Linked DNA regions of Homo sapiens: all the other regions are linked to region 7. The links are contacts of gene promoters, found by promoter capture Hi-C in blood cells and fetal thymus (Javierre and others, 2016). All regions are on one chromosome and are shown on one strand. The core of a region is centred on a gene start or on the middle of the fragment in contact, and the rest is flanking DNA. Distances in the headings are between cores, read along the strand shown.

Evidence for each region. Contacts are between HindIII fragments. The CHiCAGO score rates a contact against its expected background, and 5 or more counts as called.
Region 1: a contact is called between a fragment that was not itself captured here and the fragment with the promoter of ZFP69 in region 7, in 4 of 17 cell types (total CD8 T cells, naive CD8 T cells, total CD4 T cells and 1 more). The highest score is 5.9, in total CD8 T cells.
Region 2: a contact is called between a fragment that was not itself captured here and the fragment with the promoter of ZFP69 in region 7, in 9 of 17 cell types (naive CD8 T cells, total B cells, total CD4 T cells and 6 more). The highest score is 7.6, in naive CD8 T cells.
Region 3: a fragment that was not itself captured here is called in contact with the fragment with the promoter of ZFP69 in region 7 in 12 of 17 cell types (erythroblasts, naive B cells, total B cells and 9 more); the score reaches 8.3 in erythroblasts.
Region 4: a fragment that was not itself captured here is called in contact with the fragment with the promoter of ZFP69 in region 7 in 1 of 17 cell types (neutrophils); the score reaches 5.3 in neutrophils.
Region 5: a fragment that was not itself captured here is called in contact with the fragment with the promoter of ZFP69 in region 7 in 4 of 17 cell types (total B cells, naive B cells, naive CD8 T cells and 1 more); the score reaches 6.6 in total B cells.
Region 6: a fragment that was not itself captured here is called in contact with the fragment with the promoter of ZFP69 in region 7 in 7 of 17 cell types (naive CD8 T cells, total B cells, total CD8 T cells and 4 more); the score reaches 7.8 in naive CD8 T cells.

What each region holds. Positions count from the first base shown.
Region 1 is chr1:40,100,879-40,104,323 of GRCh38, reverse strand. No RefSeq gene overlaps it. Among named protein-coding and RNA genes, the nearest start is that of PPT1, 5.3 kb to the right of the region's middle. The HindIII fragment of the contact is 4,302 bases long and covers 1-3,445 here.
Region 2 is chr1:40,137,667-40,141,507 of GRCh38, reverse strand. No RefSeq gene overlaps it. Among named protein-coding and RNA genes, the nearest start is that of RLF, 22 kb to the left of the region's middle. The HindIII fragment of the contact is 6,332 bases long and covers 1-3,841 here.
Region 3 is chr1:40,116,697-40,120,294 of GRCh38, reverse strand. No RefSeq gene overlaps it. Among named protein-coding and RNA genes, the nearest start is that of PPT1, 21 kb to the right of the region's middle. The HindIII fragment of the contact is 3,880 bases long and covers 1-3,241 here.
Region 4 is chr1:39,992,496-39,996,091 of GRCh38, reverse strand. No RefSeq gene overlaps it. Among named protein-coding and RNA genes, the nearest start is that of MFSD2A, 39 kb to the right of the region's middle. The HindIII fragment of the contact is 3,629 bases long and covers 315-3,596 here.
Region 5 is chr1:40,060,395-40,064,198 of GRCh38, reverse strand. CAP1 (cyclase associated actin cytoskeleton regulatory protein 1) reads right to left here. Exons shown (of 13, transcript NM_006367.4): 4 at 2,387-2,464. Among named protein-coding and RNA genes, the nearest start is that of CAP1, 22 kb to the right of the region's middle. The HindIII fragment of the contact is 3,835 bases long and covers 1-3,803 here.
Region 6 is chr1:40,084,250-40,087,944 of GRCh38, reverse strand. All of the region lies in intron 5 of PPT1 (palmitoyl-protein thioesterase 1), which reads left to right. Among named protein-coding and RNA genes, the nearest start is that of PPT1, 11 kb to the left of the region's middle. RefSeq lists an enhancer at 2,954-3,248. The HindIII fragment of the contact is 3,424 bases long and covers 132-3,555 here.
Region 7 is chr1:40,475,774-40,479,107 of GRCh38, reverse strand. It overlaps ZFP69 (ZFP69 zinc finger protein), which reads right to left and starts at 1,818. Exons shown (of 6, transcript NM_001320179.2): 1 at 1,214-1,818; 2 at 1-72. RefSeq lists a silencer at 1,610-2,079. The HindIII fragment of the contact is 9,111 bases long and covers 1,131-3,334 here.

The DNA.
Region 1 (3,445 bases), core at 488-2,987, 370 kb after region 7:
AGTTAAAGTTAATTGAATTCTGTTAATCCTGAATTCTAATTTAAGTTAATTGAGTTAAAGATTCAAAAATTCAAGTTTACTTGAATTAAATAAACTTAAAGGAATAAAAAGGAAAAAAGGAACAAGTATAAAAAGAAATTTTAAAATCTGGACTTCAAATAAGGGTTAGGAAAAGTGACTTTGACATTATGTTGTTTTGTTTATTTGAAGTTTATTTAATTTTATTTAATTTAAATTTAATTTTATGAGACAGGGTCGTGCTCTGTCATCCAGACAGCAATGCAGTGGCATTGCAGCCTTGAACTCCTCCCACCTCAGCCTCCCAAGTAGCTGGGACCACAGGTATGCGCCACTACACCCAGCTAATTTTTTAGGAATGGGGTCTTGCAATATTGCCCATGCTGGTCTTGAACTCCTGAGCTCAAGCAAATCCTCCTGCTACAGCTTCCCTAGTTGCTGGGATTACAGGCATGGGCAACTGCCCAGGTCTGGTTTTTTAAGAATACGTTTTAAATTAGAATCTATTGTAAGCCCAAGGAGAGTGCACTCGTACTATACTATCTTCCATTACCTCCCTCCACAGGGCCCAATATTTCTTAGTCATACTATTTTACATTGTTAATTCATATAATATGTACATGGTATAAAGCAATGATTCACACAGGTATTCAGTATTAATTCTGTATTTAAACAGATTCAATGATCATCACAAATCCTTTTCCCAAGACTTCTTAATTATTGAAGTCTTAATTTTGCCCTATTTCTTAATTGGCTGAATTTCACTTTCAAGCATTTTCTCAAGAAGAATTTGAAAGAGCTTTTTTTTTTTTTTTGAGATGGAATTTCACTCTCGTTGCCCAGGCTGGAGTGCAATGGTGTGATCTTGGCTCACCACAACCTCCGCCTCCCGGGTTCAAGCGATTATCCTGCTCAGCCTCCTGAGTATCTGGGATCACAGGCATGTGTCACCATGCCCGGTTAATTTTGTATTTTTAGTAGAGATGGGGTTTCTCCATGTTGGTCAGGCTGGTCTCAAACTCCCAACCTCAGGCAATCTGCCTGCCTCGTCCTCCCAAAGTCCTGGGATTACAGGCGTGAGCCACCATGCCTGGCCAGAGAGAGCTCTTTCCTATGCATTCTTTTGTATTTGTGGGAATCTGCCTAGTATCTTTATTTCCAAATGACATCTTGGCTGGGTATAATATTCTTGGATCATACTTTTGTTCTTTCAGAATTCCGTAGCCAGTGCTCCATTGGCTTCTGTCTCTGGAATGTTGCTGTTGAGAAATGTAAGGATAGCCTGAGTTTTTTTCCTTGTAGGCATTCTACTTTTTCTGCCTGGTTATCTGAAGTTCAATAAGTTAATTACAATATTTTTCAGGACAGAATATTCTGTATCAAAGTGCTTTCTGTCTTGACCTTTCAAGCTGTAGATTAGTACTTCATTTTGGGGCAAACTTTTGTTTTTATATTTTTGAATACTTCTGTTCCATTTAATGAGTTCTCAATTTCAGGGACACCAATAACTTCTGTCTTCCATATCTATAGATTTCTATCTGATTGTTTTAATATCTTTGTGTTTTCATCTACCATTATTTTGATTATTTAAAACCATTTTCCATATCAATAGTTCCATTTCTAGGAGTGTAAAAGTCTTTAAAAAAGAAAAGAAAAAACTAATTCCACTCCTAGCCATGTCTATTTGGTTCCTTGTTTTCAGGTATTTATTAGTCTTTGGATTCTCAAATGTGCAACTTCCCTATTCATCTCCTTCCGTTGTTTTATTATCTTGGTTTTGAGTTCTTATTCTATTGAGCTCATTTTCTTGTCTTTTTTTTAGAGACAAGGTCTTGCTCTGTTGCCCAGGCTGGAGTACAGTGGCACAATCATAGCTCACTGTAACCTTGAACTCCTGGGCTCAAGAAATTCTCCTGCCTCAGGGTCCCAAGTAGCTAGGATTACAGGTGCCCAGCACCATGCCTGGTTAAATTTTTTTATTCTTGTAGAGACAAGGTGTTGCTATGTTGCCCAGACTGGTCTTAAACTCCTGGCCTCAAGCAATCCATTCACCTTGACCTCACAAAGCACTAGGATTACGTAAGTGTTAGCCACCACACCTGACCTGAGGTCATTTTCTTAATAAATTGTTCTACAGCTCAAAGCACTTGGGGTGAAGTTTTTTGTTTTTCTATTTGTCTCCAGAATTGCTTTCCACTTTATTTGAAACTTATTTGTTTTTCCTACTGAACTGCAGTTAGAAGAGTGTTATTTTATGCAGTATGCAGTTTTTCTATGATTTTTATGCTTGTCTGAAGAGGGGAGAGGGCTGCTCATGTGCAGCCTTTGTTAGAATACCTAAGTTCTGCAATCACTTCTGAGGTTTTGTTAAGTGTCTATTCCAAAGTTCACCCCACTAATGGCTGGTGTAGTCCATTTCCATGGAAAAGATAGCTTCACTTTTTGGAACTTCTCTCAGTTCAGCATGTTTTCCTGAGTCTTCACTGCCATCTTAAAGATTTGGTCTATTCCATACTTCCCATTTCAAGTTTTTCTCCCCAGTAGCCATTTTCAATTTTCCAGAGATGGGAGGGGAAAGAGAAGGAAAGCGTTTACTTTTCTTCTCTCTTGTAATGTATGTGGATATGTTTGTGTTAATTGTCAGGATTTTGTGGATCTAATTGTATGAGTTTTGATGGAATGAAGGCAGAACTGGAAGCCTTGACATGCTCCAGCCCAGAATCTTCTATTTATTTCCTTGACCACCACTTACTGACATTTAAGATACTGACGTTTTTTTGCCGTGGATACAATTTTAACTTTTTAAACTTTCCTAGATATTGGTTGAAACAGAGTCTGTGAGATAGCTTTACTCCATTTTCTTAATCTAGAAGTCTAATAATTTTTAATGTGTGTATATTTTCCATTTTTATTATAAAAATTGTATATCCTTGCTGTAAAATTTCAAACCAAACACAAGTATATAAAGTAAAAAGTGAAAGTTCCTTGTAATACTGCCCTCAAGAATATTACTTTTAACGGTCTCCAGATCTTTTTAAATATTTATTTTCTTTCTTTTTTCTTTCTTTCTTTTTTTTTTTTTTAAGATGGGGTCTCGCTCTGTCGCCCAGGCTGGAGTGCAGTGGCTCGATCTTGGCTCACTGCAAGCTCCGCCTCCCGGGCTCACACCATTCTCCTGCCTCAGCCTCCCGAGTAGCTGGGACTACAGGTGCCTGCCACCACGCCCGGCTAATTTTTTGTATTTTTTAGTAGAGACGGGGTTTCACCGTGTTAGCCAGGATGGTCTCGATCTCCTGACCTCGTGATCCACCCGCCTCAGCCTCCCAAAGTGCTGGGATTACAGGCGTGAGCCACCGCACCCAGCCTCTTTTTTCTTGGCAATGCTTTGACCTTTCAGTGATAATGTACAAATATATAAATACACAGA
Region 2 (3,841 bases), core at 1,110-3,609, 340 kb after region 7:
CCCTGTCTTTAACCCAACCATGTGAAAAAATCAAATTGACCACTCAACATCAGGCAGTTAAAAACAATGACGAAGTGGGCGTTTTTAATTGGAAGAATAGACAAACAAGAAAATGTGTAGGGCTGGGGCCAAGAGTTGTTTAAGTGAGTTTAGGGCTGGTGGAGCCTGGGCCAAGGAGACTCTGGTGATCTGGGCTGGCAGGTCTGGGGCTGAGGTAGTAGCTTACAAGGTCAGGACAACTAGGTTCAGAGCCAAATAAATGGTTCTCATGGTCAGGAATGGCAGGGTCATGGCAAAGCCTGCAGCTCAAGGTCAGGGTCAGTAAGAATGGGGCCAAGGAGATGGCCCATGTGGTCAGGAGATTGAGCAAATAAGAAAATATATTGAGAATAGTGAGAGCCAGGTTTCTTACTCTTGGAGACAATAAGTATGAAAAGGGGAAAGACTAGAACAAACCCTGTAATTAGAGTCAGAGGTGTGAGCCTATAGGGTGTGTGTGTGTGTGAATATTATATATGATATACAAAGAGAGACAGAAGAGTAGATGTGTGTGTTTATGATATGTATAGTGGCTTTTTGGTTTTTCAAAACACACTAATTTGTAGCATTTGCTGATTTCCACGGTGTAAATACTCCCAGCATGAAATAATACTAGTTTCACAGCCACCCGCAAAGTTCCTGAATATTTAACAAGCAGCTTTTGCAAGTCCATATGAGCCAACTCCACTACAGTACTTCGGAATGTACATCATACGTATGATTGTGTGTGTGTGTGTCCAGACATATTTTTCCTAGTTGATATCTTGTTTCCTTGTCCTACTGAAAGGACTTGCAAGACCGACACACCCATAGCAATGAGTGCACCTAGCATCTACATCTTGACTTCCAAGTATCATTCTTCACTAAAAAGAAACCAAAAGTTCTTAGAGAAATGGCTGATTTCATGACTAGGGCAGTGAAAAATCTTACTGGTTCAGGAAGAAAGGAAGTATTCAAAGAATGAGGATGTAGTAAGCTAAGTAATGGCCCCTGAAGCTCTAATCTCTGGAATCTGTAAATATTATCATATACAGAAAAAGGATCTTTAGAGATATGATCAAGGAACTTGAGATGGGGAGATTGTCTTGGATTATTCAAGTGGACTTTAAATGCAAACACAAGTATCCTTGTAAGAGAGAGGCAGAGAGAGATTACGCAAAAGGAGAAGGCAGGAGGCAGAGACTGGAGTGGTGCAGCCACAAGCCAAGTGCCAGCTGGAAGCTGGGAGAGGCAAGGAACGAATTCTCCCCTAGAGCCCAGAGGAAGCATGGCCGTGTTAATATTCCTGATTTGGGCCCAGTGAAGTTGATTTTGAATGTCTGGACTTCAGAACCATGAGAACTGCAGCTGTTTTAAGCCACCGAGTTTGTGGTACACTGTTACAGCAGGCATAGCAAACTAATACAGATGAGAAATGTCAAAAGAACACAGGAGCCAGTGTAAAGAGGCTCCCACTGGCCAAATCAGGGACAATCTAGTCATCAAAGTAAATTATGATTGTAAGGAATTATAACTTATTGAATAAATTGGGAATCCTTAAGCCCACACTAATATAAATAAAAAATTAATTAAAAAGGATACAGGAGACCAGGTCCAGTGGCTCATGCCTGTAATCACAGCACTTTGGGAGGCTGAGGCAGGCAGATCACTTAAGGTCAGGAGTTTGAGACCAGCCTGGCCAGCATGGTGAAATCCCATTTCTACTAAAATTACAAAAATTAGCTGGGTGTGGCAGCGTGCACCTGTAGTCGCAGCTACTCAGGAGACTGAGGCATGAGAATCTTTTGAATCTGGATGGCGGAGGTTGTAGTGAGCCAAGATCTCGCCACTACACTGCAGCCTGGGCAACAGAGCAAGACTTGGTCTCAAAAAAAAAAAAAAAAAAAAAAGAGGATACGGGAAAGGAAATGATACTTTACTATAGAATTCAAGTAATAAATGTAGAAGAAACAATGGACATAGGAAAATCTCTATTTGGTGGCCATTATAGTAATAATCCAGGCAAGAATCATTAATGGATGCTAAAACTACTAGGTGTAAATTCGTGTATATTTATGTGTGTGTGTGTGTGTGTGTGTGTGTGTGTGTGTGTGTGTATATATATATGGAAAGAGAGAGAGAGAAATAAAGAGATAAGGAGGCAAATATGATAAAATGCCTCTGGTGGAGATTCTTCAGGATTCTCTGTACTAATCTTGCAAATCTTTTCTAAGTGTGAAATTATTCAAAACCATTTTTTAATTGTGGCAAAATATACATAAAATAAAATTTACCAACCTGTCCGTTTTTAAGCATATAGTTCAATAGTGTTAAGTACATCTGCATTGTTGTGCAACCAATCTCCAAAACTCTTATCTTGCAATCTAAAACTCTATACCCATTAAACAACTCCCCATTTCCCTTCTCCCCAGCCCCTAACAACCACTATTCAACTTTCTGTCTATAAATTTGACTACTAAGTACCTGATATAGGTGGAATCATACAGTATTTGTCTTTTTGTGACTGGCTTAGCGTAATGTTGTCAAGGTGCTACATCCATGGTATAGCATATGTCAGGATTTCCTTCCTTTTTAAGGTGGAATAATATTCCATTGTATGGATATATCCTATTTTGCTTATCCATTCATCTGTTGATGGACATTTGGGTTGCTTCCATGTTTCAGCTATTGTGAATAATGCTGCTCTGAACATGGGTGTACAAATAACTCTTCAAGACCTTGCCTTCAATTCTTTTGGATATATACCCAGAAGTATCAGTGCTGGATCATATGAAAATTTTATGTTTAATTTTTTGAGGAACTGCCATACTGTTTTCCATAGCAGCTGCACCATTTTTCTCTCTTTTCTTTTCTTTTCTTTCTTTTTTTTTTTTTTTTTTTTTGAGACAGAGTTTTGCTCTTGTTGCCCAGGCTGGAGTACAATGGCGTGATGCTGGCTCACTGCAACCTCCGCCTCCCGGGTTCAAGTGATTCTCCTGCCTCAGCCTCCCGAGTAGCTGGGATTACAGGCACCCGCCACCACGACCAGCTAATTTTTGTATTTTTAGTAGAGATGGGGTTTCACCATGTTGACCAGGCTGGTTTCAAACTCCTGACCTCAGGTGATCCACCCGCCTTGGCCTCCCAAAGTGCCGGAATTACAGGTGTGAGCCACCGCGCCCAGCCAACAGCTGCACCATTTTTCATTCCCATCAACAGTACACAAGGATTCTGATTTCTCCACATCCTCACCAAAACTTGTTATTTTCTTCATATTTTTGATAGTGGCCATCCTAATGCGTATGAGATTGTAGCTCGTTGTTTTGATTTGCGTTTCCCTAATGATTAGTGATGTCAAACATCTTTGCATGTGCTTTTTGGCCATGTGCATATCTTCTTTGGAGAAATAACTATTCAAGCTCTTTGCCCTTTTTGTTTTTTTTGTTTTTTTTTTTTGCGACGGAGTCTTGCTCTGTTGCCCAGGCTGGAGTGCAGTGGTGTGATCTCAGCTCACTGCAACCTCCACCTCCCAGTTCAAGCAATTCTCCTGCCTCAGCCTCCCATGTAGCTGGGATTACAGGTGCACGTCACCATGCCTGGTTAATTTTTTTGCATTTTTAGTAGAGACAAAGTTTCACTGTGCTAGCCAGGATGGTCTCGATCTCCTGACCTCATGATCCTCCTGCCTCAACCTCCCAAAGTGCTGGAATTACAGGCGTGAGCCACTGTGCCCAGCTTATTTGCCCAATTTTTAATTGGGTTGTTTGTTTTGCTGTGAGAACTCTCTGTATATTCTGGATATTAACCCCTTATCAGATATAGG
Region 3 (3,598 bases), core at 52-2,551, 360 kb after region 7:
CTTTTTTCTTTCCTTTTTTTTTTTTGAGATGGAGTCTCGCTCTGTCACCCCGGCTGGAGTGCAGTGGCACAATCTTGGCTCACTGTAACCTCCTCTTCCCGGGTTCAAATGATTCTCCTGCCTCACCGTCCTGAGTAGCTGAGACTACAGGCATGTGCCACCATGCCTGGCTAATTTTTGTATTTTTAGTAGAGACGGGGTTTCACCATATTGGGCAGGCTGGTCTTGAACTCCTGACCTTGTGATCTGCCTGCCTCAGCCTCCCAAAGTGCTGGGATTACAGGTGTGAGCCACCATGCCTGGCCAGTTACCACCCTTTCCATGGCAATGACCTGACGACATTTTTTCTAGAAAATTCTGCATAATATTCCCCTTAATTTACATATAATTAAAAGTCAGTATAACGACTACTCCAGAACTGCCACTGAGCTGCTACTGTGGGCACACTGCCTATGGCGTAGCCCTGCTCCTCAAGGAGCAATACTACTGCTGCTGCTGCAGCTGTACACGGCCACTTCAATAAAAGTTGCTAACACCACTAGCTCGCCCTTGAATTATTTCCTGGCAAAGACAAAACCCTCCTGGGCTAAGCCCCAATTTTGGGGCTTGTCTGCCTTGCATCACCATGAAATGGGAATAAGCCTGGGGTATTTCAGAAACAGAAAGAAGATCATTTTGGCTAGAATTTTGTAAGCAAAGAGGAGAGGGGCCTGAGATGAGTTTGGAGAGATAGGTAGGAACAGACTCTGTAGGGCTTCCAAGGCCACAGTGTGGGGTTTGGAATCATCCTCTTTCTGTTTTCAGAGGGTGGTTAACCAGATGCTGCCTTGAGGTCTGCAGATAAGTTTATACTTTTCGTTAGGTTTTTTGAGGCCATGAATTAGATATTCAGGCACCTGAGACCCTGGGGCACAGCAGAGTTGAAGAGCCTGACAATGGTTTTGGAATTGAGCAGAAGATGGTGTCAGAAAAGTTGGGCTTGCCAAAGACAAATAGGAAGAATTGGGGTATCAGCCAGCAGCACCCACAATCCCACTATCAGATGAGGCAATAGACTCACTCAGGCAAGTCAGTGCTTTCACAGGGCGACAGAGAGCTCCTCTGTGCTAGCTCCTAAAGGAGTAGTCAATACATGGTTATACCCATTTTGTTGGTCCCACCCTAAGCACGAACCTTTTGAATATTAAAGGGACACAGCATGGTTTAGGCCAGCACTAAGCGTAGGAGAAACTATAGGTGGGCAATGAGAGAGTAACATCCCCTCATCCTGGAGTGTTCAAAAGCAGAGCCATCTTCTACCTTTATCTAAGACCCATCCATTCGATCATTTATTCTCTCAACAACTCTTGGTTGTGTGCTTCTGCTCTGAATTGTTTTAGTTGTCAGGAATATAGTATTAAATAAGACAAGTTCTTTATGTCACTTACAAAGCAGGTCATAAACAAATGGATATATAATATAATGTTAGGTGGAAAACGAAATGGTAAAGAGGATCAAGAGTGATAGGAGCATATACAACTGGCCCTCCATATCTGCAGGTTCTCTATCAGCAGATTCAACCAACCGGGTATGGAAAATATTTGGGGAAAAAAAGAGCGTGGTTTTGTCTGTACTGAATATGTATGGACTTTTTTTTCTTGTCATTACTCCCCAAGCAATATAGTATAACAACTATTTACACAGCATTTCCATTATATTAGGTATTATAAGAAATCTAGAAATGATTTAAAGCATATGGGAGGATGTGTATAGGTTACATGCAAATACTATGCCATTTTATGTGAGTGACTTCAGCTCCTTGGACTTTGGTATCAGAGGAGATCCTAGAACCAATTCCCCACGGATACTGAGGGATGACTATATATTGCTTGGGGAAAGCTCTAAGGAGGTGACCTTCGAACAGATATCAGAATGAAGTGAGGGTGAAAAACACGCAAATACTTGGAGGAAGAGCAGTTCAGGCAGAAGGAACAGCAGATGTCTTGAGGTGGGAGTCGACCTGGTGGCCTCATAGAAGCAGGAGGCCAGTGTGCTAGAGCTCAGTGAATGAGGGGTGGCCAGGTGAGGGATGCAACCAGAGACATAAGGCTGGGGGTGTGGATGTAGTTAAGGACTTAAGGGCCTTGGAGATCATCATAAAGATATTTGGTTTTCTTCTTCTTTTTTTTTAGAAGGAGTCTCACTCTGTCACCCAGGCTGGAGTGCAGTGGCATGATCTTGGCTCACTGCAACCTCCACCTCCTGGGTTCATGCGATTCTCCTGCCTCAGCCTCTCGAGTAGCTGGGATTACAGGCGCCTGCCTCCACGCCTGGCTAATTTTTGTATTTTTAGTATAGATGGAGTTTCACCATGTTGGCCAGGCTGGTCTCGAACTCCTGACCTCAGGTGATCTGCCTGCCTCAGCCTCCCAAAGTGCTGAAATTACAGGTGTGAGCCACCGCTATTGTTTTTAAAGTCATGGCGCCAGAGGACATTATCTAGGGAGTAAGTATAAACAGAGAAGAGACCGCAGGACTAAGGGGTGACACTCTACCTTTAGAGGTTAGGAACAGGAGAAACAAGTAGAGCAAGAAGACAGAATAATATTTCATTGTATGCATAGACCACATTTGTTAACCTATTCATTCTTCGATGAACACTTAGGTTGTTTCCACATTTTGGCTATTGTGAATAATACTGCTGTGAACATGGGTGTTCAAACATTTCTTCAAGACCCTGCTTTCAATTGTTTGAGTATATATCCAGAAATGGAAATGCGGATCATATAGTAATTCTATTTTTAATTTTCTGAGGAACCACCATACTGTTTTATCCAGCAGCTATACCATTTTACATCCTCACCAACAATGTACGAGGGTTACCGTTTATCCACATCCTCACCAACACTTATTTTCTGTGTTGTTTTAATAGTAGCCATCTGTGAAATAATAATAAATAAAAACCATTAAGAAATAAGAAATATGTCTCTGCCCCAGTTCATGAGACAGAGTTCCTAATACCCTTGCTGATAGGGGTGCTAGGAGAATCTTTTCTTCTAGTATTCGATCTTTGACCCAGTTCCTAACACAAATCTCCTTAGACTTTTGTAATTTTCAGAGTGATAGGAGTGTCTGACACAGAGTTCCTAAATTACTTGGAATTCCCTAGGGATAGGAGCATTTTTTGTTCTAATGAGGTGACTCTTGATAGACTTCTGGGTGAGTACTGGTCACCAGAAAGATCAAGATAAGATTAGAAGCTTTGAACTTTCAGTCCCATCAGCATACTTCTAGAAGAGGAGAGGTGTGGAGATTAAGTCAATAGTTGATCATGCCTACGTGATGAAGCCTCCATGAAAAATCCCTGAACTACGAGGTTCCAAGAGCTTCTGGATTGCTAACATGTATAAGTGCCTGGAAGGTGGCACATTAAGAGAGGACATGGAAGCTCCAAGCCCCTTCCCACAGCCTTGCCCTTTGCATCTCTTCCATCTGGCTGTTCATCTGTATACCTCATAACATTCCTCATAATAAACTAGTACATGTAAGTACAGCACTTTCTTGAGTTCTGTGAGCTGCTCTTGCAAATAATCAAACCCAAGGAGGGGATCAGGGGAAT
Region 4 (3,596 bases), core at 880-3,379, 480 kb after region 7:
TATAACACCTCCTCACCTACCTTCCCCTGGAGGTTTACACAGTTCTCCACACTTGGGTTTTACAAATTGTTCCTGCCCTAGTGACCTCACTCCCTCTACCCTTGTAATTTGCAAAGCTGCCTCCCTCGCCATGGAGTTAGGACTTCTCTTTGCAACACAGAACAAGTTGTATTTATTTTTTTTGATCCTTGGCTTTTCAAAACTGTGCTCCCTTAGGCCTGCTGGGGATAATAAGCAAGCCTATTGAAGAGTCAGGTACCTCTTAAATGGCTTCTCCCTTTTCTACACAAAGACATAAAGGCACTGCCAAAGCTTTGAAACTAAACCTAGACTCCTGCAGTCTGTGCTTGTGTGTATTACATAAAAAGGAGCCTAGAGAAAGGGAGAAAGAAGGGGACACAGAGTGAGGTTTTCTTTTTATTGTATTTATTTATTTATTTAATTTTTGAGACAGAGTCTCACTCTGTTGCCCAGGCTGGGGTGCAGTGGCACGATCTCGGCTCACCACAGCCTCTGCCTCCCGGGTTCAAGTGATTCTCCTGACTCAGCCTCCTGAGTAGCTGGGAATATAGGCTCACACCACCATGCCCGGCTAATTTTTGTATTTTTAGTAGAGACGGGGGTTTCACTATGTTGGCCAGGCTGGTCTCGAACTCCTGACCTCATGATCCACCCACCTCGGCCTCCCAAAGTGCTGGGATTACAGTCATGAGCCACTGTGCCCAGCCAAGAGTGTGGTTTTCTTTTTCTAGTTGCAATTGTTTGCATTTTCTGATTCTTCCGAAATCAGTACACAGAGACTCAGGGAGGTTATATAAATTGCCTGAAGTCACACAGCCGGTACCTTGTGAACTGTAAGTTAATCCCAGGACTTCAGGCTGCTAGTATGGTAGAGCATTTCTGCTATAGCTGAGCTAGCCACCGAGCCTGGAGTAGAAAGATGTTTTCCCTTCAGGAGAGACATATTACTGTCCCTCAGCGGGTGAAAACAATGGTATAGGACCTAAATACTTCTACGATCAAACAGAGTTAAAATACCCAAAACACCCACCTCCTGAGGTGTCTGCCCGCTTCACTCCCAGGTGGGCAGTCCTACATACCAAGTGTGTGTTTGATGACTCTGCCACAGGGATTGGACCAGCAATATCACTCTCACTCTTGTGATGTCTCTCTCTCTCTCTCTCTCTCACACACACACACACACACACACACACACACACACAAATCTGTAATTAGAATCAGGAGTATCCAATTCAATCTGGGAAGGTTGAACGGAGGAGATACATACTTGGGAGCTGTGGGCTGGCCTCTTCTACCTGCCATGTGGAACGAGCAGCTGAGCGGTGGTGTGCAGACAGAGGAAGAGCCACTTATGAGAGGAGGAAATACAACGGGATTCCTGATATCTTTAGTTCCCGGTCCCACTGGGTTTCTACTTCATTTGGGGAGTCACAGAACTTGGAATAGAGAGCAATACATCCCAAATCAGTCATTTCCAAACTATAAGTCAATACCAATTTATCACATGTTTTCATGTAACAAGAGGCCATATAGATTAATGATTTTTTTTTTTTGAGACGGAGTCTCACTTTGTCACCCAGGCTGGAGTGCAGTGCCATGATCTCGGTTCACTGAAACCTCCTTCCCACGGGTTCAAGCTATTCTCCTATCTCAGCCTCCGAGTAGCTGGGATTACAGGTGCGTGCCACCACGCCCAGCTAAGTTTTTGTATTTTTAGTAGAGATGGGGTTTCACCATGTTGGCTAGGCTAGTCTCGAACTCCTGACCTCAAATGACCCACCTGCCTTGGCCTCCCAAAGTGCTGAGATTACAGGCGTGAGCCACCATGCCTGGCTAGATTAACAATTAAAAGCCCCAATGAGGACATAGACTGCTTGGGTGAGCAGGGTAAGTTTATCAGTATCTGTTTCCCCAACTATAAAACAGGAATATAGGCCGGATGCAGTGGCTCATGCCTGTAATCCCAGCACTTTGGAGGGGGCTGAGGCAGGCGGATCATGAGGTCAGGAGTTCGAGACCAGCCTGACTAACATGGTGAAACCCCGTCTCTACTAAAAATACAAAAATTAGCCAGGTGTGGTGGCGCGTGCCTGTAATCCCAGCTACTCAGGAGGCTGAGACAGGAGAATTGCTTGAACTGAGAGGCGGAGGTTGCAGTGAGCCAAGATCGCACCATTGCACTCGAGCCTGGGTGACAGAGCAAGACTCCATCTCAGAAAAAAAAAAAAAAGACAGGAATATAATACTGAATAGTAGCTTTCTCATACAGTTTTTATGATGGTTAAATGAGTGGATCTGTCTCAGAATAATGACTCAAACATAGAAGGCAGTATGTAAATGTTATCTATTATCCACATTTGTTTTCTCCTCCTTGCTATTTCATATGTCACAAAGTTAACCACTACCAATAATTCCTGTATAAGGTAGTGAAGAAAAGGAGAGGCAAAATTTTGGTTAATATATGCAAACATATACATAACAAAGAAAAGAGGAAAATAGGCCGGGCACAGTGGCTCACACCTGTAATCCCAACACTTTAGGAGGCCAAGGCAGGCAGATCACCTGAGGTCAGGAGTTCAAGACCAGCCTGGCCAACATGGAGAGAAACCCTATCTCTACTAAAAATAAAAAATTAGCTGGGTGTTGTGGTGCATGCCTGTAATCCCAGCTACTTGGGAGGCTGAGGCAGGAGAATCACTTGAACCCGGGAGGCGGAGGTTGCAGAGAGCCGAGATTGTGCCACGGCACTCCAGCCTGGGCAACAAAAGCAAAACTCCATCTCGGAAAAAAAAAAAAAAAGAAAGAAAGAAAAGAAAAGAGGAAAATATACATAGTTGTAAAAGTCTGTATTTCTGTATCAGGTCACATGGCCAAGACCCAACAAGTCAAAGGTGTTGCTCTTGATGTAGCAATTACATAGTAGGTCCTGGAACTAAGGTCTCCTGATCCTAAGTTCAATGCTTGTTCCGTCACCCTGTATGTCCTGCAACCAACCACCTGTTGCAGTTTCCTTGGGAAGAGTGTGAAAACCTAAGCCCAGAGGGTGTTATGAAAACTGCTCCGGGCCAGGTGCGGTGGCTCACACCTATAATACCAGCACTTTGGGAGGCCAAGGCGGGCAGATCACCTGAGGTCGGGAGTTCAAGACCAGCCTGACCAACATGGAGAAACCCTGTCTCTACTAAAAATACAAAATTAGCTGGGCGTGGTGTCACATGCCTGTAATCCCAGCTACTCAGGAGGCTGAGGAAGGAGAATCGCTTGAACCCGGGAGGCAGAGGTTGTGGTGAGCCAAGATCGCGCCATTGCACTCCAGCCTGGGCAATATGAGCAAATACTCTGTCTAAAAAAAAAAAAAAAAGAAAAGAAAGAAAAGAAAACTGCTCCATGCCTCTACTTCTGGTTGGGGAACCAGGCTATTCCAACTTGGCCTGTCCAGTGGGGCTTCCACACCTATGTAATTGATGAAGAGGAAGAAGGCTTAGTAGTGATAATATTCGATTTTGAGAAGTATTTTGCAAAGAATCCTGTAGCAAAAAAATATATATCTGCTAATATTTAGGAAATGAGGAAAT
Region 5 (3,804 bases), core at 637-3,136, 410 kb after region 7:
GTTAACATCTTTCCACAAAGGTGTCTATGCCTTCTGATCCTGAAGGCAAGAATTCTCTATGGACTCTAGTGAGCACCCAAATAAACTGCATGAGTCCTGTCCTGATTCCTAAGGCTAAAATACTGCTCATCATCTCACTCTCCTCGTAGAGTTCCAACTCCTCAGGCTGCACCTGATGGTTCTTCATGATCAGGACCCATACTTCAGCTATACCACAGAACCTCCATTTCAGCCACCTGTCTCTTTTTTGTTCCACTCAGAGGACATACACTCAGGACATCATTCCTGTGCCTTACTCATGATGTTCTCTTTTTTTCCCATGAATCCAAATTTTCCTCATGCTTCATGAGGGCCCTCCAACCCAGCCACACCAGCCTCCTACAGCATTTGTTGTCAGCATAACCAATCTTGGCATTTTATCACTCACCAATACAAACTATTAATGGACCCATGTGAATATGTTTTACTTTCTCATTAATTCTTCAAAGACGAGCTCTTTTATCATCATGAAAGCCCCCAATGCATTGCCAGCCATATAGTAGCTGCTGTAAAGAACTGATGAATCAAATGCAATTAGGGGGCTTAGTCTGGGCATGGTGACCCACGCCTGTAATCCCAGCACTTTGGGAGGCCAAGGCAGGAGAACTGCTTGAGACCAGGAGTTCAAGACAGACTGAACAACACAGCACAACTTTGTCTCTACAAATAATAAAAAGAATTAGGGCCAGGCATGGTGGCTCACGCCTGTAATCCCAGCACTTTGGGAGGCCAAGGTGGGCAGATCGCTTGAGTCCAGGAGTTTAAGATCAGCCTGGGCAACATGGGGAAACCCCATCTCTATAAAAATACAAAAATCAGCTGGGCATGGTGGCGCATGCCTGTAGTCCCAGCTATTCAGGAGGCTGAGGTGGGAGAATCACTTGAGCCTGGGAGGTGGAGGTTTCAGTGAGCCGAGATCCTGCCACTGCACTCCAGCCTGGGCGACAGAGAGAAACTCCATCTCAGAAATAAATAAATAAATAAGTAAGTAAATAAGCAAGCCAGGCATGGTGGTGCACACTGTAGTCAAGGCTACTCAGGAGGCTGAGGTGGGAGGATCATTACACCTGGGAGGTCAAGGCTTCAGTGAGCTGTGATTGCACCACTACCCTCCAGTCTGGGTGACAAAACAACACCCTGTCTCAAAAAAAAAATTTTTTTTTAAACATAAATAAAATAAAAAACAATTAGGGGCTTAGCATTCAAGTAGGCACCTTGGCAAAATGGATGAATTTTGTTTGTGTTTGCACCCTTCCTCCAAAGCTCCATTTCCTGAACATCTCAATTCTCAGATCTTAACCATTCAGGACAGATTAAGAATTAAAATCTAATTCTACATATTAGAATTAGATGGCATCTATACACACACACACACACACACACACAATGTTTTTTGAGAGAAGGTCTTGCTCTGTCGCCCAGGCTGGAGTGCAGTGGTGTGTTCATGGCTCACTGCATCCTCAAACTTTCAGGCCCAAATCTTCCTCCCATTTCAGCCTCTCAAGTAGCTGGGACTATACGCATGCACCACCTTGCCTGGCTATTTTTATTTATTTTATTTTTTTAATTTTTAATAGAGACGAGGTCTTGCTATGTTGCCCAGGCTGGTCTCAAACTCCTGGCCTCAAGTGATCCTCCTGCCTCAGCCTCCCAAAGTGCTGGGATTACAGGAATGAGCCAGCACACTTAACCAGAATCTAATATATTTGACATTATCTTGCACTATTTTTATATTATCTAGGCATGCTGAGGGTCAAGGGTTTTAATACAGCATTTAGGACAACTTGCTTTATTATTCCTCTGTAACTAGGAAAACCAAATGCAAAAGAAGGAAACCTATATTCTTTGACTCCAAGAGAAATCTAAATTTTCTCTAATTCAACTTTTCACATCTTGCACCATAAAATTTTGAGGTGGGAGTAAAATTAAAGAGAGAGTCTCCCAACCAGTGAAGGATGAGGAGAGAAGCAATACTGTAGGAGTTTTAAGATCTCCACAGGAGCACTACTAAAGCCCATCCACAGTGAAGCAAGAGAATCATCTTTAAAGGGCTTTGGAGACACTATGATGAATGTGGACTCAGCAAAGAGGCAGGCAAGCAAAGTCCCAGGGATAACCACAGTCCTATGCAAAATGACAGAGAAAAAGCCAGTAGAGACCATTAAGTACCCAATAGTACCTTCCCATTAAGGCACTTGAAGTATGGCTCTACCTCTGGGACTTGGTATGAACATATATTATCAAAAGCCTAGTAGGTCTATTTTAAAATGTTATAATAGCTTGACATAAATCTCTCAACTCGTCCTGAGCATCAAACCAAAATGAAACCAGCTAGTAGTGAACTTACTTCTGCTGGCTGTTGACACTGAGAAGCTGTAACCAACAGAGCTCGCTCCAACTTCAAACCTGTGTGGACCATCTCCGCCTGCCAGAAAGAAGAATCAGCTATTGATGACACATTATAACTAGAGAAGTCTTGATAAGAATAACCTGAAACCTCTACTTCCATGTACTCTGATAGCAACCCAGGCACTTCATGTTATCCTCCTCATGTATTCCAGATTCCAGGGACTGAGAGCAGAATTACATACACTACTGTTCCTATTGGAACTCATCAGGGATATATATCCAGAGTTGGAAGTGAAGTTAATTGGATAATCACCTAGCTTACATGAAGTCATGTTAGCATCTTACACATGCATTGTGATACCGTGCACTGAAAAATCCTTCCTATTTCACATCAGCAAAATAAAACAAACAGCAACCAAAAAAACACCTTTCTTTTCTCAAAAATTGGAGACAGGAGTAAAGGCAAAGGCCTAAATTTCTGCTGAAAATTCTCAAGGTATTTACTCCTTTAGATTAAAGCTATCTCTCAAATGCCAGATACCATGACCCATTAATAAATAATTAAATCAATTTAGTGAGCTTAATGGAACAAAAGTATGAGTGCAGTGCACCAACTTCAAGTTATTTCCAAATAAAAAGTTAAAAAAAAAAAAAGTACAGCAGAAGTAGTATAAATATCATCTTGTGAAACTTTTATCTCAGTTACGAATATGTTCTTTCTTTCTAAGGGTCATTCGCAGTCAAAAGAATTTAAGAAACATGAGACTGTAAGCACTATTAAAATACAAAAATTCAAAGAAAGCAATCTATTTTTTCTGGATTTGCATTTTTAAAATACAAATGATAAATGTTTTAAAGTTTTTTCAAATGTTACAGAACTGTATTAAGTAAAAATGCAAGCCTCCACACCCTTATTAAAGTCCCAGTCCCACTCTCTAGAGCTAAAACCATTGGCAACAGATGGTATTTGAGAGGCTCAAAATAGATTTTCCAAAAGCCAAGCAACCAGTCTTCGAGAAAGGTTTAGGTGAAGAAGTTCCCAAGCATGGTTACTGTTTATAATTCGGTGAGCTAGCAGGAAGGTTTTTGGGTCCCAAAAATAGAGGTAGAATGTATATGTGAGTGTGGGGTGGGGGTGGGGGGTGGTGGTGATGACGTAGGAGGCATAAAGGAAGGTGGGAGGAAAGGCACCTGTCATTGCCTACTTCATATTCTTGCTGTGGGTTAAGTGTGAAAATAACCCACATTAGCATAACTAATAACTATCAAGCATAGTTTTATAAATGCTAAGTCATGATAATGACTCCTTTAAATAAGCCACTGTAGGTTTGATTATGTAATATGTTGGGATCAAACTGGTGCATATTCTTCACTACAAAGATGAACAGAACCATATTTTATGTACCAAGCAAGCTT
Region 6 (3,695 bases), core at 594-3,093, 390 kb after region 7:
TCCCACTCGTTGGCTACACAAATAGCCACAAAGCTGTTTTGGGTCAGCAGTACCACCTGATGGTTATTATAGAAAACTAAGATACTCTGTACCTCTAGCTCCTTTTTTTTACCCTCAGGCTACACCAAGCTTTCCCCTTTGCCTGGTTTGATTGGCTGTGGCTAATTACAACTTAATTATTTATATTCTACATATTCTCTGTTCTCATGGATTTGCATGGTATTTAAACTTCATTCTTCTTCCTTTACTCTTTATTCTCACTCTTGCCCAGTTGCCTCCAAAACGCCTATACTTTTCTTTCTTTGTGTGAACCAAAACAACCCTTGGCGATCAGAATTCTGTTAGTGATGCTAAGTGAGCAGTCCGTCGGGGGGTGACAAGTGACACCTAAATACTGATTAAGGCGGGGCGCAGTGGCTCATGCCTGTTATCCCAGCACTTTGGGAGGCCTTGGTAGGCAGATCACTTGAGGCCTGGAGTTCAAGACCAGCCTGGCCAACATGGCAAAACCCCATCTCTACTAAAAATACAAAAATTAGGCAGGCGTGGTGGTGCACACCTGTAGTCTCAGCCACTCCGGAGGCTGAGGCTAGAGAATTGCTTGCACCCAGAAGGCGGAGGTTGCAGTGAGCTGAGATCGCACCACTGCACCCCAACCTAGATGACAGAGTGAGACTCTGTCTCAAAAAATAAAAATAAAAAATACTGATTAAAAGCTATAGATTGATGTGTTTATCTTCACTTCCTCCTTAAACTTTAATTAAGTGGTAGCAGAAGAATAAAAAGTGATAAACCCACAAGGGCAGAGAGAACAGGGAGAGAGGAGGTAAGAGATCATAAAAAATGGCAACATGTTTTTGAAAGCAAGCAAGCAGATGAATGAGTGTGAGAACTGTTTTAGCAGAGCAGATGGTGAAGGCTTAAAGTAATAAAGAGAAATCATTTTGTCTTTGTGATACTGTCCCAGGTTGCCCCTGGTATTAGGGAGGATTAATTCTGGTTGCAAGAAGAAACCCATATCAAGCCAAAGTAAATTTTAAAAGAAAGTAATACTCTGTTGGTGCCTAAAGCCTCATAGGGCCTAGAATCAAGAATTGGGAGCCATGAGGAGCCAGGGTATTCTCTCTCCAGTGCCATTGTTGCTTCTCTCTCTGTGTCGCTGCTTCTTTCTCTCCATGCAGACCAGCTTCCCCTGCCACCCACATGATGGAAGGTGGCCTCGCACGGCTTCCAAATGTTTAATTTTCTGTTAGGAGATTGTCTCAGTCTGAGGCTAGACTCTCTTTGTCCCGATTCAGATTCTTCAGGAAGGGACCATGCCCCAGCTCAGGTCAGGTCTCCCCCTCTGCTCTCATTAGCTGTGGCCAGAGAAGTGGGACCGTGCTTACTAACCATACCCCACCTCCCTGTAAACCAGTAGGCCGGGCAGGAAGAGTGCAAGAGAGGCAGAGACCCCAAAAGATGTCTTCCACATTCTTCAGATAACTTAACCTTAGCAAAGCAAACGTGATATCCTAATACGCACAGTAACTGGTGGGGAAGCCCCCGGCTTGGCATGGTGAGGGCAACGAGGAATGGTATAATAGTTCTCTCTCTCCTTCCTGGATGTAAAACTACCCTCTAGTTCCCTTTTGCCTTTGCAGATGCTGTCAGCCCTTCCTAGCCTTCTCCTTCCTCCGGTTTGCTCCCTGCCATCCCCTGCCCCACGCTCTACCCTCCTACCTCTACACTCCCTGCCACAATGAATGCTTCAGTGTTGCCCTGGCCTTGGCCTCCGTCTTCCCCCGTACCAGCTCAGAGGAAGCTAGAGCTTTACATATCCTGTTTAATTTTCATAGCAACTTGCCTTCCCCAGGTCTGCTCTGGGCCCCGCTCCCAGTTTGCACCCCACCCTCAGTGGATCTCAGAGTGCTTTTCCTCAATTGTCCAGTTTTCCCATGTCTTTGCCCTCAGCCGATGAACTTGCAACTTGGTTTTCTGGAAATATTAAGGCATCTACTCAGGCTCTCTCAGAGACTTTCAGCCATTCAAAAAAGTTAGAGAGTAATGTAACGAACTACAGGCATACCTCAGAGAAACTGAGGATTTGGTTCTAGACCACCACAATAAAGCAAATATTGTTAATACAGCAAGTCACACAAAGTTGTTGGTTTCCCAGCGCATATAAAAGCTATGTTTACACTATACTGAAGTCTATTAAGTGTGCAGTAGCATCATGCCTAAAAAAAGTACATGCCTTAATTAGAAAATACTTTATTGCTAAAAAATGCTAATCATTTGAGTCTTCAGCAAGTCATCTTTTTGCTGGTGGAGGGTCTTGCCTCGGTGTTGATGGCTGCTGACTGATCAGGGTGGTGGTTGCTGAAGGTTGGGATGTAGGGTCCAGCCCCACAGGGTCGGTGGGTTTTTCTCCCTGTGTGCGGAGATGAGAGATTGTAGAAATAAAGACACAAGACAAAGAGATAAAAGACAGCTGGGCCCGGGGGACCACTACCACCAAGACGTGGAGACTGGTAGCGGCCCCGAATGCCAGGCTGCGCTGATATTTATTGGATACAAGACAAGGGGGGCAGGGTAAGGAGTGTGAGCCATCTCCCATGATAGGTAAAGTCACATGGGTCACGTGTCCACTGGACAGGGGGCCCTTCCCTGTTTGGCAGCCGAGGTGGGGAGAGAGAGAGAGAAAGACAGCTTAGGCCATTATTTCTGCATATCAGAGACTTTTAGTACTTTCACTAATTTTGCTACTGCTATCTAAAAGGCAGAGCCAGGTGTACAGGATGGAACATGAAAGCAGGCTAGGAACATGACCACTGAAGCACAGCATCACAGGGAGATGGTTGGGCCTCCGGATAACTGCAGGCGGGCCTGACTGATGTCACGCCCTCCACAAGAGGTGGAGGAGTAGAGGCTTCTCTAAACTCCCCCGGGGAAAGGGAGACTCCCTTTCCCAGTCTGCTAAGTAGTGGGTGTTTTTCCTTGGCACTGACGCTACCACTAGACCACGGTCCGCTTGGCAACGGACATCTTCCCAGACGCTGGCATTACCGCTAGACCAAGGAGCCCTCTAGTGGCCCTGTCCGGGCATGACAGAGGGCTCACACTATTGTCTTCTGGTCACTTCTGAGCATGTCCCTTCAGCTCCTATCTCTGTATGGCCTGGCTTTTCCTAGGTTATGATTGTAGGGCAAGGATTATTATAATATTGGAATAAAGAATAATTGCTACAAACTAATGATGAATGGTATTCATATATAATCATGTTTATGATCTAGGTCTAGGATAACTCTTGTTGTTTTATATATTTTATTATACCGGAACAGCTCATGCCCTCGGTCTCTTGCCTCGGCACCTGGGTGGCCTGCTGCCCACATTGGGGTGGCTGTGCTAATTTCTTAAAGTGAGACAATGATGAACTTTGTATCAGTTGACTCTTCCTTTCATGAAAGATTTCTTTGTAGCATGCGATGCTATTTGGTAGCATTTTGGCCACAATAGAACATCTTTCAGAACTGGAGTCAATCCTCAAACCCTGCCGCTGCTTTTATGTAAGCTTATGTAATATTTATTCTAAATCCTTTGTTGTCGTTTCATCAGTGTTCACAGCATCTTCACCAGGAGTAGATTCCATCTCAAGAAGCCACTGTTTTGCTCATCCGTAAGAAGCAATTCCTTATCTGTTTTTTGAGATTGCA
Region 7 (3,334 bases), core at 569-3,068:
TCCATACTCTTTAGAGGAGCAAAAGGGAAGGGAAGAGGGATCCAGAAGCACTTGTCTCCAGAACTCCAGAATCTGCAGAAATATATTTAAAACTGCAAAATACCCAAAAGAAAAATATCCATGCAGGAATAAATATAATACATGTTCCTGGACGTGGCTCTATCTCCAGTTCTATACATACATACACAAACATGCAAAGATGTACAAACATGCACAGACCATGCCTCATCTTCCCTCCTTGTAAGCTGCATGCATCTTCTGCCTGGACACAGACGGGGTTTAAGAGGGCAGGCTTTGAAATCAGACAGCCTGGCTTAGAAACCTGACACTTGCACTTAAAAGCTCTATGACACTTCAACTCTCAGCTTCAGTTTCTTAATCTATAAAATGGAGATAATAATTGTATTCTATAGAGTTGTAATGTTGGTTGAGACAATGCTAGGCATACAGTAAACCCTTAATGAACATTGTTATAAACCTGTTATCATATTGCTGAATCATAGTATTAATTTTTAAAGTTATTTTTAGAAACCATTAAATCTGAATTTAAAGTTCAAAATATCTCAACTGACAGAATAATGACATAGCTGCATTTTGGCATGAACAAGCAGTGACAGCCACGTCACCACCCACGCAGATGCCCAGCAGCTGGCAAGTTCCTTGGAACCACACTGGGAAGATGCATCTTGGTTTCAGAAATGTTAAAATTGGGGAAGAGGGTATGTCTTCAAATGGTGTAAATTTAGTATAATGAGGACTACTGCAGAATAGTAATAGGCAAATTTGGAAACAACTCAAATCCATCATCTCAACCAAACCCTAGAATCTGAGCAGGTGCTTTGACCGTGACCAGGTCCAAAGTATACGGCACTCCAAGAACAGTCGGAGCTACGTGGGAAGGGAGCTGGCCCAACTTTTTGAAGTTTGTTGGAGAAGGATGGGTATGTGACTTATAGGCGTGTGTGTGTGTGTGTGTGTGTGTGTGACTATATGCAGAGACAGGAGCTGCGTGTGTTCTAGGAATTGGAGCTTGTGAGAAATATCCCACCCCTGAATACATAAAAAGTCTTGTTACCAAAGTGCACGAATTTTCGAATCTTACTCGGGAAACAGTTAATGGCTGAGAAGCTTCATATCGAAGATGCCCCACCCTCACAGTGCTCCCAGACATGCCACCCTCGGACTCAAAGACTGCACACAGACTCCTACTCACCACATCGGCCTTGGACCCAGGTAGGACCAGAGACGGGGGCGTGGGAGTGCTCACTCTTGAGGTTTTCAGCGGTAAAGAGTGTCTCTTTAGAGACGGACTGAGTGGTAACAGATATTGTTCCCTCCCGGCCTTTTATAGACAGACCACATCTCCACTCAACGCAATCATTCTCCAAGAAGCGTCCAGCGTTGAGGTCGGCTTCCTTCGGAAGCCCGGAGGACCCTCGGCCTCCGGAGTGGACGAGGGTCTGCTCCACATTCCCATCAAGGGCCCGCCCAGGCGGGTGGGCTTTCCCAGCAGCGCCCCCAGGAGCGAGGCTTTGAGGGCCGGAATGGGAGGGATGCCCTGAGCCGGCGTCTTGCAGACCCCGGGGAGGATACACCTCCCTGGCTGCCGCTTTAACACGGGGCTGGCGGCTGCAGCCAAGCCCACCCAGCCTGGCCTCTTAGGCCGCAGCCGGGTGTCTCGCCTGGCCTCTGCCTCCGGCCGCGCCCTCCCGGCCGCTTGCACCGCCGGCCGCTCTCGCTGCAGCCCTGGCGGTCCCGGGGCCCACCCCACGCGGTCCCGCTGCAGCTGCCACAACCCGCGCGTCTTCCGGCGGGTTGTGAGCCCCGGCCGCCGGCTCCGCCCACAGGGGGCTGCCACGGAGCCCGCCCTCTCCCGGGAAGCAGCGCGCGCCCTCGAACCCGGAAGCTGGAAGCCGCCCGAGCGCGCCCCCGAGGGCCGTCCGGAACCGTGGGTAGCGGCCACCCACCCACGCCGCCCCCCGTTTCCTCACAGCGGTCCTTGGGAGACCTCCTTCAGCCTTTCCGGTGAAGCGCCTTCCCTGTCATTCATTCATTCACTCATTCATTCATTCATTCATTCAGTTATCTATTCTGAGTGTGTAAGATCTACCCCCACATTCTTATTGGCCCTGCGTATACAGCAGTTAACAAAACGCAGTTCCTGCTTTCTTGGAACTTAATTACATTGAAATTAATTGACAATAACAAATAGAAAAATAAATAGATAATACCCCAGGCGATTGTGAGGACCATGAAGAAAAGGAAAGCAGGGTGGGGAGATGATGGGCTAGGATATTTGTATCAACCCACTGTAGAAAACAACAATAAAATTTAAAAATAAAATTCTGGAATACGTGTGTGTGTGTGTGTGTGTGTATGTGTATATATATATACATATATATATAATATATAAATTTGTTTTTGAGACGGAGTTTCGCTCTTGTTGCCCAAGCTGGAGTGCAGTGGCGCGATGTTGGCTCACCGCAACCTCTGCCTCCCGGGTTCAAGTGATTCTCCTGCCTCAGCCTCCAGAGTAGCTGGGATTACAGGCACGCATCACCATGCCTGTAATTTTGTATTTTTAGTAGAGATGGGGTTTCTCCATGCCTGAGCGACAAGAGCAAAACTCCATCTCAAAAAAAAAAAAAAAAGAAGAAGAAGAAGAAGACCCTCCTTACAATAACTGGGACCCCAAAGGGCAACAGCCTCAGGGTGAGGATGAATTGAAAATGGAACAGCTTAAAAGGAATTTACAGACTGCATCAAATTGCCTGTCTCAGACATTATCTTGGTTTAAGACTGTCTCTGACTATGGTGTCACCAGATGCTTGGCAAAAGCAAATAGGTGGAGGAAAGCCTTATAATTGTAGGGCCGACATTTTTCCTACACATAAGTTTTCATAGACAATGTCAAATACAGAATTAAAGATAACCAGGTACACAAAGAAACTAGATTCTTAGTGAGAACCAGCAGAAACACAAACATTGGAAATAGACCTGCAGAAACAACTGCTTTTAGAATTATTTGATGCAAACCGCAAAATAATATTTTCTTGGGCTGGACACAGTGGTTTATGTCTATAATCCCAGCACTTTGGGAGGCCAAGGCAGGTGGATTGCTTGAGCTCGGGAGTTCAAGACCAGCCTGGGCAACATGGCAAAACCCTGTCTCTACAAAATATCAAAAATTAGCCAGGTATGGTGGCACAGCCCTGAAGTCCCAGCTCTTCAAGAGGCTGAGATGGGAGGATCGCTTGAGCCCAGCAGGTTGATGCTGCAGTAAGTCACGATCATACCACTGCCCTTCAGCCTGGGTGACAGAGCAAGACCCTGG